Linked DNA regions of Homo sapiens: regions 1, 2 and 3 are each linked to region 4. Evidence: promoter capture Hi-C in 16 types of primary human blood cells and fetal thymus (Javierre and others, 2016). All regions are on one chromosome and are shown on one strand. Each heading gives the region's core, a stretch centred on a gene start or on the middle of the fragment in contact. The rest is flanking DNA. Distances are from core to core; before and after follow the strand shown.

What was found. The method cuts DNA at HindIII sites, captures the fragments that hold promoters and counts their contacts. A CHiCAGO score of 5 or more calls a contact.
Region 1: a fragment that was not itself captured here is called in contact with the fragment with the promoter of EGFLAM-AS5 in region 4 in 1 of 17 cell types (M0 macrophages); the score reaches 6.1 in M0 macrophages.
Region 2: a fragment that was not itself captured here is called in contact with the fragment with the promoter of EGFLAM-AS5 in region 4 in 1 of 17 cell types (naive CD8 T cells); the score reaches 5.0 in naive CD8 T cells.
Region 3: a contact is called between a fragment that was not itself captured here and the fragment with the promoter of EGFLAM-AS5 in region 4, in 3 of 17 cell types (erythroblasts, endothelial precursors and M1 macrophages). The highest score is 6.8, in erythroblasts.

The regions. Positions count from the first base shown.
Region 1 is chr5:38,913,272-38,916,227 of GRCh38, reverse strand. The region is part of intron 9 of OSMR (oncostatin M receptor); the gene reads right to left. Among named protein-coding and RNA genes, the nearest start is that of OSMR, 69 kb to the right of the region's middle. The HindIII fragment of the contact is 6,135 bases long and covers 1-2,956 here.
Region 2 is chr5:38,934,018-38,936,755 of GRCh38, reverse strand. OSMR (oncostatin M receptor) reads right to left here. Exons shown (of 18, transcript NM_003999.3): 18 at 1,115-2,738. Among named protein-coding and RNA genes, the nearest start is that of OSMR, 89 kb to the right of the region's middle. The HindIII fragment of the contact is 2,580 bases long and covers 80-2,659 here.
Region 3 is chr5:38,839,240-38,842,181 of GRCh38, reverse strand. All of the region lies in intron 1 of OSMR-DT (OSMR divergent transcript), which reads left to right. Among named protein-coding and RNA genes, the nearest start is that of OSMR-DT, 5.1 kb to the left of the region's middle. The HindIII fragment of the contact is 2,093 bases long and covers 358-2,450 here.
Region 4 is chr5:38,466,946-38,470,052 of GRCh38, reverse strand. EGFLAM-AS5 (EGFLAM antisense RNA 5) reads left to right here and starts at 1,687. Exons shown (of 2, transcript NR_199676.1): 1 at 1,687-1,814. RefSeq lists enhancers at 349-1,220, 2,588-3,107. The HindIII fragment of the contact is 4,194 bases long and covers 1-2,403 here.

The sequences.
Region 1 (2,956 bases), core at 71-2,570, 450 kb before region 4:
TTATTTTAAAATCTTAAAAAGGCACACGTTTTAATCATTGATTGATAAAAATATTATGAAAGTCCTATTAAGATGAGTACATCTTTTCGTTTGTAAATTGTTTTGTTGGATTTATGTAATACTCTGTATTCCACATAGAATCAAATTTTCTACTGATACAATTTTGTCATGGTATGAACTTCACAAGAATAGTACAACAAGAAGTAGTCAAAAGAGAATTTAAAACATTCATAAGCCACAAGAAATATCAGGCTTTAACTGATGAAGATATAGATGACCCAATTATAGCACATCCATGGAGACAAACAAGAAAGGGACTCACAGGTATTGATGTCATTCTGCAACTGAGTCCTAACAGCACATCTCATTTTTAAATCCAGACATAAAAAACATCTTTATCTCTCTACTCAATCACATTTTGTGAACGTGCTGCTTCAGCTTTCTGAATTTGAAAATACAACTATAGCATGTCTCATATGACTTCTATTTTTAATGTTTACTTTGAAACTTCCCTTTAATTCTTAAAGATAGCTTGAATATTTTAGCATAGCCCCTAATAAAAATAACTGAATTAAATTCAAGTATCTAATTAAGAGAGTTAGTAGCACTGCTACAAACCTAAATAACTTTTGTGATAACAAAAATCAATTTAAATACAAGATGTGATATAGAGTTGTTAGTTTCATAATCTAATGGTTTAATAGTCCAGATTCCATTTTAGAGTAATGATATAAAATCCAAATTACTTATCAGTAGGTTCCTTAACTTTACATGAATTATTTTTCTTCCAACTCTTCCAACTTTTCTTCCAACTCTCAGTTTGCCAAATCACAAACTTTATTTTAATCGAGAAAAACATCCTTTTTGAAAGGTGCAAATCAGTATTTTACCAGTCTACTATCATTGATAGGGTTTACTATATTTCAAAATACATATCCCAGTGCTGTCAAATTTTTGAGAAATTATGATTTCATTAAATTAGAGTTGGTTATGAAAACATAAATTCAAAGTCCATCACCTGAGTGCTACTTTAACCTCCAGACTTCTTTGTGCATGCTATTATGTTCTTGAAAGTAATTTAGCATATTTCCATATAACTCATTCATGTGAAACCATAGTCAAATACTTCATCATTCTGTAGTTAATAATCAAATTTAGTGAATCATATCCCTCCCTATTACATTTTACTTTCCTTTGAAATACTTTTAAAAATACTTCCTAGAAACTCTCTTTTTATAATTTTATTTAGAGTCAGGGAGTACATGTGCATGTTTGTTACATGGGTATATTGTGCAATGCTGAGGTTTGGAATATGAATGATCCCATCACCCAAACAGTGGGCATAGAACCCAACAGTTAGTTTTTCAACGCTTGCCCCCTCCCTTCCTTCCCCTTCTAGTAGTCCCCAGTGTCTATTGTTTCTATCTTTATTTTCATGAATACCCAATGTTCAGTTCCCACTTAAAAGTGAGAACATGCAGTATTGGATTTTCTGTTCCTGCATTAATTCGCTTAGGATAATGGCCTCCAGCTACATCCATGTTGCTGGGAGGAACATTATTTCATTATTTATTCCATGGTGTATATGTACCATATTTTCTTTGTCCAATCCATCATTGATGGGCACCTAGGTAGAGTCCATGTCTTTGCTATGGTGAATAGTGCTGTGATGAACATATGCGTGTTGGTAGAATGATTTATTTTCCTTTGAATATATACCCAGTAATGGGATTGCTGGGTGGAACAGTAGCTCTGTTTTGAGAAATCTCCAAACTGCTTTTTACGAAGGTTGAACTAATTTATATTCCCTCCAACAGTGTATAAGTGTTCCCTTTTCCCTGCAGCTTCCCCAGAATCTGTTGCTTTTTGACTTTTTAGTAATAGCCATTTTGACTTGTGTCCTCATTAGAAAAGGCAATAGATGCACAGAGACGCTCAAGAGAATACCCTGTGAGCAGACATAGATGACCATCTACTAGCCAAAGAGAGTGGCCTCTGAGAAACAACCTCAGCCAACAGCTTGATGTCAGATTTCTAGCCTCCATAATTATGAGACACTAAATTTCTCTTGTTAAAGTCCTTCAGTCTGTGGTACTGTGTTATTAAAGCCCTAGAAAACTGTTACAACCTATTAATACACATGGAATATATTCCCTGCATCATGGTTGAAATGAAACCAGAGTTTTATTATGTCAGGCTCCACTTGCATTTGAGATCTGAAGCACTGTGGAAAATGGCCTCCCTTAAGAAATATTATGAAGACATGTGAAGAAGGCTCCTGCCCTGATGGGGTTACAGGGATGAGTTCTGTGAGATGACACATTGCAAACAAATGCGTACAGTAGCTTAACCTTCCCCCTTTTTGTGTAACACCTCCTTCTGTGCAAAAACGTTCTTGTAAGAACATTGGCTTTTAATACTTACAGAAGGTCTAGCAGGACAGTGGTGCTGACTGCTACAGAAGCTACCTGGGGTAGCTAAAGAATAAAAACAGTAACAACATGCAAAGATTTTTAAAAATAGCCTTTCTGATTGGTGTGAGATGGTGTCTCATTGTGATTTTGATATGACTTTTTCTGATGATTGGTGATGTTGAGCATTTTTTAATGTTTTTTGGCTGCTTGTATGTCTTCAGAACTCTCTGTTCATGTCTTTCACCCATTTTTTTTTTTTTTTTTGAGATGGAGTCTCACTCTGTCGTCCAGGCTGGAGTGCAGTGGCACGACCTCTGCTCACTGCAAGCTCCGCCTCCTGGGTTCATGCCTTTCTTCCACCTCAGCCTCTTGAGTAGCTGGGACTATAGGCAGCCACCACCACGCCTGGCTGATTTTTTTCTATTTTTAGTAGAGACGGGGTTTCACCACGTTAGCCAGGATGGTCTCAATCTCCTGAACTCGTGATTCTCCTGCCTCGGCCTCCCAAAGTGCTGGGATTACAGGCATGAGCCACCGCGCCT
Region 2 (2,738 bases), core at 120-2,619, 470 kb before region 4:
TCTCTCTTCCAGAGTTTTAAAAGTTCTACTTTATGCAGACTGCTTTAACATGCTTTGTAAATTATTTGAGATGAAAGCTTATCATCTTTCAACAGAACTCTTAGAAGTGTTTAATAAGAAGATATTATTAAGTAAGTCTTGACGTTCTTCATCAATACACATTCTAGTAGGTAACAAGGTTGACCCTAATTAGTATGGGTTAGGTGTTTGAATGTAGGAAGCGTTTCAGCAGTCGTACTGTTGTGTGAAGAGGTCCCAACTCCCATCTTGAATTGTCGAGTTCCCCCACACACAGGTGAGGACCGTGCACAGGCTGACGCAGGATGTAAAGGCCATATATGCCAGTCCCATCCATCCACCACCCAAATATCCTGATTGATTTTTTTTAAGGAATTATTACTGTGATTTTAGGTGCAATTTTAACAATATTATGACTATTAGAAAAAGTAGAGCTTATTTAGAGAACTCAGATATTGACATGAAATCATGATATCATGATTTGCTTCAAAACAATGTGAGGAGAAAGCGAACAGGGGTGTGGATGGAGCTGAAACAGTCATGGGTAGTGACCATTGGGGCTAGTGATGATACATAGTGGTTTATTAAACTATTCTACTTTTGTGTATATATTTATTTGAAATTGTCCATTATTATTTTCCTGACACATGAATATGTATTATTTCAAAGTTTCTGAATAGCACTTCCTAAAGCCATGTTAAGATGGCATATAGTATTGAAAACTAAGGTTTTGAACGTGAATTTATTTGGTTATGACCATTGGAGACGAAATGTTTACAGCCAAGACTACAGGTCATAGTGATACTATGAAGACAAATGTTACAGAGCCCAGCATTTCCTATTGGCATGTTGTTATATTTCAGAAAGACTTCATTTGATTTAGGCGAGTGATTCTCAAAGTTTAGTGTGTAGATGAATGCCTGGGAACTGATGATAAAAAATAGATTCCAGGTCCATGCCCCAAAGATTCTGATTAAGAGGTTTGTAGTCATACCCAGGAATTTACATTTTTATTTAGTAAGTTCATGAGGTGATGTATCATCTAAACTGAGTAATTACTAGATTTTCATTTCATTGAGGGAGATAAAACACAATGTGATGATGAAATATTTTAATTAAGGTTTATTTCAATAGCAAAAATGACTTCAAGATTTTGCGTGAATTATTTTTTAAACAAAACTATATGAAAAATATGTACAAATCAGTCATCAATGTCATTGACATTTTTATGAACAAGTTTCAAATGAAAAATATCCCATCATAACAAAGGTACATAAATAAATAAATGCTGACAATACTGGCCCTAAAGTCTAACACAACTGTTAGACTAATCAGGATACCGCTTTCTACTACGTGAGGAGCACATAATCAATGTTTCCAGCAAAAGGCAAGTACTGGTTTGTGTAGGTTTATTTAGGCCAGTTGTTGACAGCCACATTATTTTGAGGTGTGGCTACTTGTTTCTCTTCATAGTGTTGAATGGCACAGTGCAAGGCATTGGGCACCAGAAGCATGAGCATAGGCAGAGCCATTTCCACCATGCTGACGGCAGGCAAGAAGAAGACAAAAATGAACCCCTTTCATGCTTGTTTAGAAATGTGACGGCTAGGCGCAGTGGCTCACGCCTGTAATCCCAGCACTTTGGGAGGCCAAGGCAGGCAGATCACCTGAGGTCAGGAGTTCGAGAACAGCCTGACCAACATGGTGAAACCCCATCTCTACTAAAGATACAAAATTACCTGGGTGTGGTGGTGCATGCCTGTAATCCCAGCTACTCAGGAGGCTGAGGCAGGAGAATTGCTTGACCCTGGGAGGCGGAGGTTGCAGTGAGCCAAGGCTGCACCATTGCACTCCAGCCTGGGCAACAAGAGCGAAATTTCATCTCAAAAAATAAATAAAAGTAAAATAAATGTGACAAATAATGTGACAAATAGGCTGGGCATGGTGGCTCACACCTGTAATCCCAGCCCTTGGGGAAGCTGAGGCAGGTGGATCACCTGCGGTCAGGAGTTTGAGACCAGCCTGGCCAATATGGTAAAACCCAATCTCTACTAAAAATATAAAAACTAGTCAGGTGTGGTAGCATGCACCTGGAGTCCTAGGTGCTCTGGAGGCTGGGGCAGGAGAACTGTTTGTTTGAATCTAGGAGGCGGAAGCTGCAGTGAGCTGAGATTGCACCAAAAGAACCAACATGTACTAAAATACCAGTTGTGTACCAGGTGCTTTGCATATATTGGTTTGGGATATATTGGTTCAGAGGAGACAAAGCTGCTCCAGAGCCAACACGGAATTTCCCACTTCATAGAACTTTTTAGTTATATCTAAATTATGTCCAACAATGAGGTTTCATTTTACTATTTTAGCATAATATGAATATAAATGTGACTGAGAGTTATCTTGACCCAGACAACCTACTGCAGAGTCCAAAGGATGCTAAGTGAAAACAGGTCATTTATATATAGTTCTTGAAAGAAAAGAGGAACCAAAAACTGTGACTGGAATTATGTGATATACGTTCCTTTTTATGTTCTGAGGTAGTCATCAAAAATGATGGCAGAATACTGATGTCTATGGAGCAGAAGTACAACTGACAGTAAGTCAGAAGTTACTTGCCAATCCCATTCTTTCACTGTAGTAAGCTTGACAGAAGAATTGTGGAAATCTTGTTGATTCATCACACATTTTATATATTAGATTAGAGCTATGCCCCCCGCCCCCAC
Region 3 (2,942 bases), core at 155-2,654, 370 kb before region 4:
GGACTACAGGCACGCGCCACCATGCTTGGCTAATTTTTGTATGTTTTATAGAGACAGGGTTTTGCCATGTTCTCCAGGCTGGTCTCGAACTCCTAGGCTCAAGTGATTTACCCACCTCAGACTCCCAGATTTCTGGGATTATAGATGTGAGCCACAGTGCCCAGCTGACATTGACATCTTAAAGATTCACTTTTAGGCCTTAACGCGTGCCTCTGTGATTATTATTGGTGGTGATATTGGCCTTATTTCTAAAAAAAAGTTATTGGAAATTAAAATTATTTTGTGGAAATAATTATTTTGTGGAAAGCTAAACAGGTCTTCCAAAAAAAAATTTAATCTGAAATTTATCATAAAGCTTGATTAATTAAAGGACATCTGTTACTGAACTGAACTGGGTCCATTTGCCCACTGTGCAATGGAAAGCCAAACACCAAAACACTCGGTTTTCATAGCATGAAAAATTTATTGCAAGGCTACCAAGCAAGGACACGGGTCTGGCTCAAATCTGTGTCCCCACCTGGCACTTGGGTCAGGTTTTATAGCCAGAGGGTAACAAGGCATGACCTGATTGCATCTTGCAATAAGGTGAGGCTGGGAGGCACCATCTGACTAGATCCTGCCATGAGGTGACACCAGGGCGCAATCTCATTGGATCCTGGATCCTGCCATGTGGTGTCCACTTCTTAATTTAGTGATCCAAGCATTTAGGTTCTGCCCATGGTTGCATTCTTAGTTCATCTGAGCCTCCTCAAGTTACATGACCTTCAACCTGGGGGTCCATGGCAACTAAAAAACAACTCACAGCTTCGCTATATAAATGGTGAACCATAAAGTTGAACCAGCTAATTAACACAGGAACAGAAAACCAAACACTGCATATTCTTATTAGTGGGAGCTAAACATTGAATACACATGGACACAAAGATGGAACAATAGACACCAAAGCCTACTGGAGGGAGGAGGGTGAGGATTGAAAAACTACCTATCAGGTGCTATGCTTATTACCTAGGTAATGAAATAATCTGTACACCAATCCCCTCCTTGACACACAACTTACCCACATAACAAACCTGCACATCTACCCCCTGAACCTAAAATAAAAATTGGAAGAAAAAAAAAAAGTTGAACCAGACTGGTCTGGTGCAGTTACACATCTAACACTTCTAAATATCCAAAAAAGTGGCACTGCAATGACAAAGCAAGATGTTGAGCGTAAGAAGACTATGTGGGACTTTCTCATTTTATCATTTTAGGAATTCCCTATAATTACTTAATGATGAATTGCTTTTCTTTCAAAATCTCTTAAGTGATGAATAATATTATCCACAATAATTCTACAGGAATTCCTTGATTAAACTAGATATTATCTGAAAATTGATTGATTGATTGATGGATGGATTTTGCACATTCCACCCTCTTCCAGATGTTGTAATTGTGCTCACACCTTCTTCCAGAAGTCATCAGAAACCAGACAATGAGGAGAACCTCCCTGGATCTTTTACTTTTTTTCCCTCAGGGACTTTAGGGAAAATATTGAATATTGATAGCTGCTTTTATTCTCTTGGCCTGTGGTTATGGCACTTACTAAATTTGAGTGCAGTTGTTAATGCTAAAGTTTAGAACATTAATACAGTGAGAGAGAAATACTTTGGAGAGAATTAGATGGGAACTTTCTGGATATTTGAAAACTATTGGCTTAAGGTTGATCCGAAATAAGTCTATAGTTGTGTTTATATTTAAACTGAATCTCTTACAGAAAACATATAGTTGAGACTTTTTTTTAGAAGTTGACTGACAATCTCTGCATTTTAATTTGATAGAGAGTGTTTAGTAGACTTATATTTAAGGCAGTTATTGATATGCTTGTGTTTAGCCTACCATTTTACTATAGGTTTTGTGTTTTGTTCTCTCTGGTTTTGTTTTTTTATTCTTCTTTTTCTTCTTTTTTTTCTGGACTATATAAATACTTTTTATCTTTTTATATTTCCATTTTAATTTTTTTAGAGTTGGGGTCTCACTCCATTGCCCAGGCTGGTCTCAAACTCCTGACCTTAAGCGATCCTTCCGCCTCAGCCTCCCAAGTAGCTGATATTACAAGCATGAGCCACCATATCTGCCTTTGAACGCTTTTTAAATTTCATTTTTATTTGCCTTTGTCTTTTTCTTATTTCTCTTTGCATGATGTCTTAATGTTTTCTCTATGGATTACAGTGTACATTCTTAAATTTCACTGTGTACTTGAAATAGTATTGTACCTTTTCACTTAATAGGTCCATTTAACCACACACCCCATCCTTTACACTATAGTTGTAAAGTGTATTACATCTACAGACAAGATAAAACCCACAATATAGTATGTATTTTAAAGAAATTAAGAGGAAAACTACTCTTTTATATTTATACACATATTTACCTTTAATGTTCTTAAATCCTTCCCAAAGATCTAAGCTTCTCTCTGGTAGCATTTCTGTAAGCCTAACAAACTTACTTTAGTATATTTTTTATTGGAAGTCTATTGGAGATACATAGTATTAGTCTTATTTTATTTGAAAATATCTTTATTTCACTTCGTCCTCAAGGAATATTTTTGTTGGATAGAATTCTATTTTCTTTCAACTATTTAAAGATACTGTTCTACATTTTACTGCCTTTCATTGCTTCTGATGAGAAGTCAGCCATTATTTGATTCTTCTTTCCTCTGTCAATATAATGTGTCATTTTTTCTCTGGTTTAAATATTTTCTCATTATCTTTGATTGTCAATAGTTTATCAACTATGTGCTTAGAAGTTTTAAAATTATTATTTACCCTGCCTGGCATTTGCTAAGCTTCTTGAATTTATAAATTTATGTCTTTTACCAAATTGGAGAATTTTTCAGCCTGTATATCTTTTTAGTACCTTTTCTGCACCATTATCTTTCTTATCTTTTTGAAATTCCGACT
Region 4 (3,107 bases), core at 438-2,937:
CGAGTGCCTGGAGGGGGCAACTACAGTAATCCTTGCGAGGGCCCGCAGGCCATCCGCTCCTCACCCTCCATTCCCCACCCCCAAAGCCTCCCAACCCACTCCCAAGGGCTCCCAGCTTCCAGGCCAGAGGCAGTCACATGGATAAGGCCCCCAGCCTTGGGCACATCCTCTTACCTCTCTAGCCCCGTGTGGAGCTGGAACAGAGATCGCCCAGGCTTCTTTCATTTCTGAGGTGGTGTGAATGTGACCTGGACAAGCAATCGGCTTGTGTTCCACTTTCCACTGTATTAGACAGGGCCCCCCATTTCATTCTGAACCCCCACAGTTGCTCTCTGAACCCCACGTTCAGTGAGAACATGGAATGCTACCGGCAGGGCCGGAAGTCACCACGCACTGAGCCTTGCGACCCCTGCGGCCCCATACCCCTCTCCTCCCACAGCTCTCTCTGCCTCATAGTCCATTTTCTCTGCCTCCGCTTTCTTTTGGCCAATTTCCTAACAGGGCTTTCCTTAGCTAAGCCCCTGGCCTGGTGCCTCTTACTTTTGTTATTAAGTGAGTATAAACGGCAAATTTCTTGAGCCTCCCTGGCCTTCCTTCGAAGAGACATTCCAACTCAAGTCCTCTCCTAGCCAAGTCAGAACTGCAGCCCCTTGGCAGCAGGCTGTTCGGGGAGGTCATAGCCCCGGGCTGGGCCCTGGCTTGTAGGTGAGCAGCTGGGACATCGGGGGAGGCCATGCCACATGCTGGGAAATTTCTATGCCTCTGGACACCATTTGCATCTTGAGCAAAACTGAAAGACAAGATGGATAAATAGAAAAGAAGAGACATCCTCCCAGGGGCTGAGACATAATGTTCTCTCTCCCGTCTTTCCAGGAAATGGCAAGTGCTCCTGGGAGCTACGAACTTTCTAGGACAAAGATGCCTCAGCAAGAGCAAGCGGGAAGAAGAGGAGCGGCAGGGGAGGCCTTTCCCAGCTGCCTTCCCTGTTCTTTCAGCTCGTGGCTTGGCTGGGGCGAGGCAGGGGCCCAGGGGAACACGCTGCTGGGCAGAAATAGCTTGCAACCACTCCCCAGGGTTATGGAGGTTATTTGTGGAGATGAAAGCAAAGGAGGGAAGGGAAAAGAATTTAACCTACACCCAGTTGCCCGTAGAGGGGCCTGAATCCCACCCTGCTGGACTAGCTCTTTAGTTTCTGCTTTCAGATTTGCTCAACCCAGAGTCCCTGCAACAGAAGGCCTTTGAAAGAAGGCAGATTCAGGGCTGTGATGAGAAACTGGCATGCGTTGGCAAGCAGACTCTTGGGACATGGCCTTTGTCCGAATCTCCCTCACTTACACGACTATACTGCAGACGACAGCTAACCCAAGGGAGCCTCAGAATGTCCCTCAACAATGCGGGTGTCCCTGGGCAGACTGCACCTGACCAGAGGTCAGGGTGAGGGCAGAAAAGCTCCACGGGACAGCATCGTGGCTGCGTCCTCGTGATGGGACCATGGGCAAGTCACCCAGTCTTTGTGGCCAGTGTCTGTCTTCCTAAGTCAAATAGGCCATGCCCATCTGCTCCAGCCATCATAGGAGGAGGACTGTTATGAAGATCAAATATGTGAACATTCTTTGACTGTGAGGTTGCGGTGCGGTTACTCACAGGGCCTAGCCCAGAAGCCAGCTGATGCTGTTGCATTGGATTAGTCATTTTGCTGGCCCGAACATAGCCACCTGTAAGCTGGAACTTCCTTACGGCAGCCTGTCACTTCCACGGGACCCACCAGCTTAAATGCCGGCAGCCCTGGGACTTCTGGCCTCACAATGGTTGAGGTAGGGCTGCTTACATTTCCCTTCTCTGTTTAGCGTGTGCCGGATAAGTCCCTAGTTCGGATACCGTCGGACGACCCACATCTCCATGTTGACAAATAACGTGGGAGTGGGCTAAAGCTGTACGACCCCTGATTTCAGATTCTAATTTTGATTCCATGCTGGCAGCTCTCTCCCCACTGCAGGGAGAAAGTGCTGGAGAACGTCGTTCCCGCCTTTGATAAGCTAATCTTACCCCCTTCTCAGCTAAGGGTCTGGGCGGTGGTGGGCACGCCCGGACTGACCCCCAGCTCCAAGGGCAACTACTATGCGTTCCTGGACTGGGCAGGAGCTGGAAGAGGCAGGGAGGAGGTGGGAAGCGGCTCATGCCTTGTCCAGGCTCCTCTCCTAAAGTATTGTCTTTCCGCTTGGAGCTGGAATTCTCTGCCTTTATTTTCTCGGAGCTGGGCCTCTGCAGGCTGCCCCTCGGTCATTCCCTCCCAGGAAGAACGGCCTTCTGGGGTGGGGGTTGCTGTCGGAGCTCAGAGAGGCTGGGGGCCCCCCTACTGCCTATTCTTCCTCCTTTGGGAACTCACAGTGCTAAAAACAAGCTTTCTGAGAACCATATTTTTCTGGGTTAAAGGTGAAAAATGCAGCGTTTCCTCCAAGTGGAAAGCCCTGGGCCTGCCAGCTCCAACTCCGGGCGCTTTTCCGAGCTCCTTCCTCCCACGCAGGGAGGGGGTAGCAGCTCCTGCAGGGCCAGGGGAGGAGGTGGGCAGGGAGGAAGGAGAGGGGGCAGCAGCAGGAAAGCGCCAGTGCCCGTGCCAGCAGGGCAGTCTGTGTGTGGACACCAGCCGGCCTGTTTGTGTTGGAGGGCCGGGAGAAGGGAGCAGGACTGGGTCAGGAAATGAAAGACAAATACCAGGGTGGGAGAGTGGCACGGCCTTCAGAGCGGCGGGCAGGCCGGGGCAGCTGCCTGGGCAGCCGCAGAAGGGGGACACAGAAGACCCCCACAGACCTTCCTGAGAGAAATCCTGAGGTGGGGCCTCCAGGAACATGCAGGGTTATGGGAGGCCATCTTAATAGGAAAAGCAAGGACATCCTCACCCCACACCCGGTCACCCTTGCTTCGAACATGTGGGAGGTTCCGGGGAATTTCCTCAGACCCTGATTGTGGGAGAAAAGCTTTTCAGGATCCCGTGCCCCACTCCATCCTTCCTCCCTAGGACAGGGACTGCTGTTAGCCTCTGAGCTCCCTGGCGACACCCCAAACCTTTCTCTTCAGCCAAGAGCCTGGCCAGCCTTCAACATGCTCTC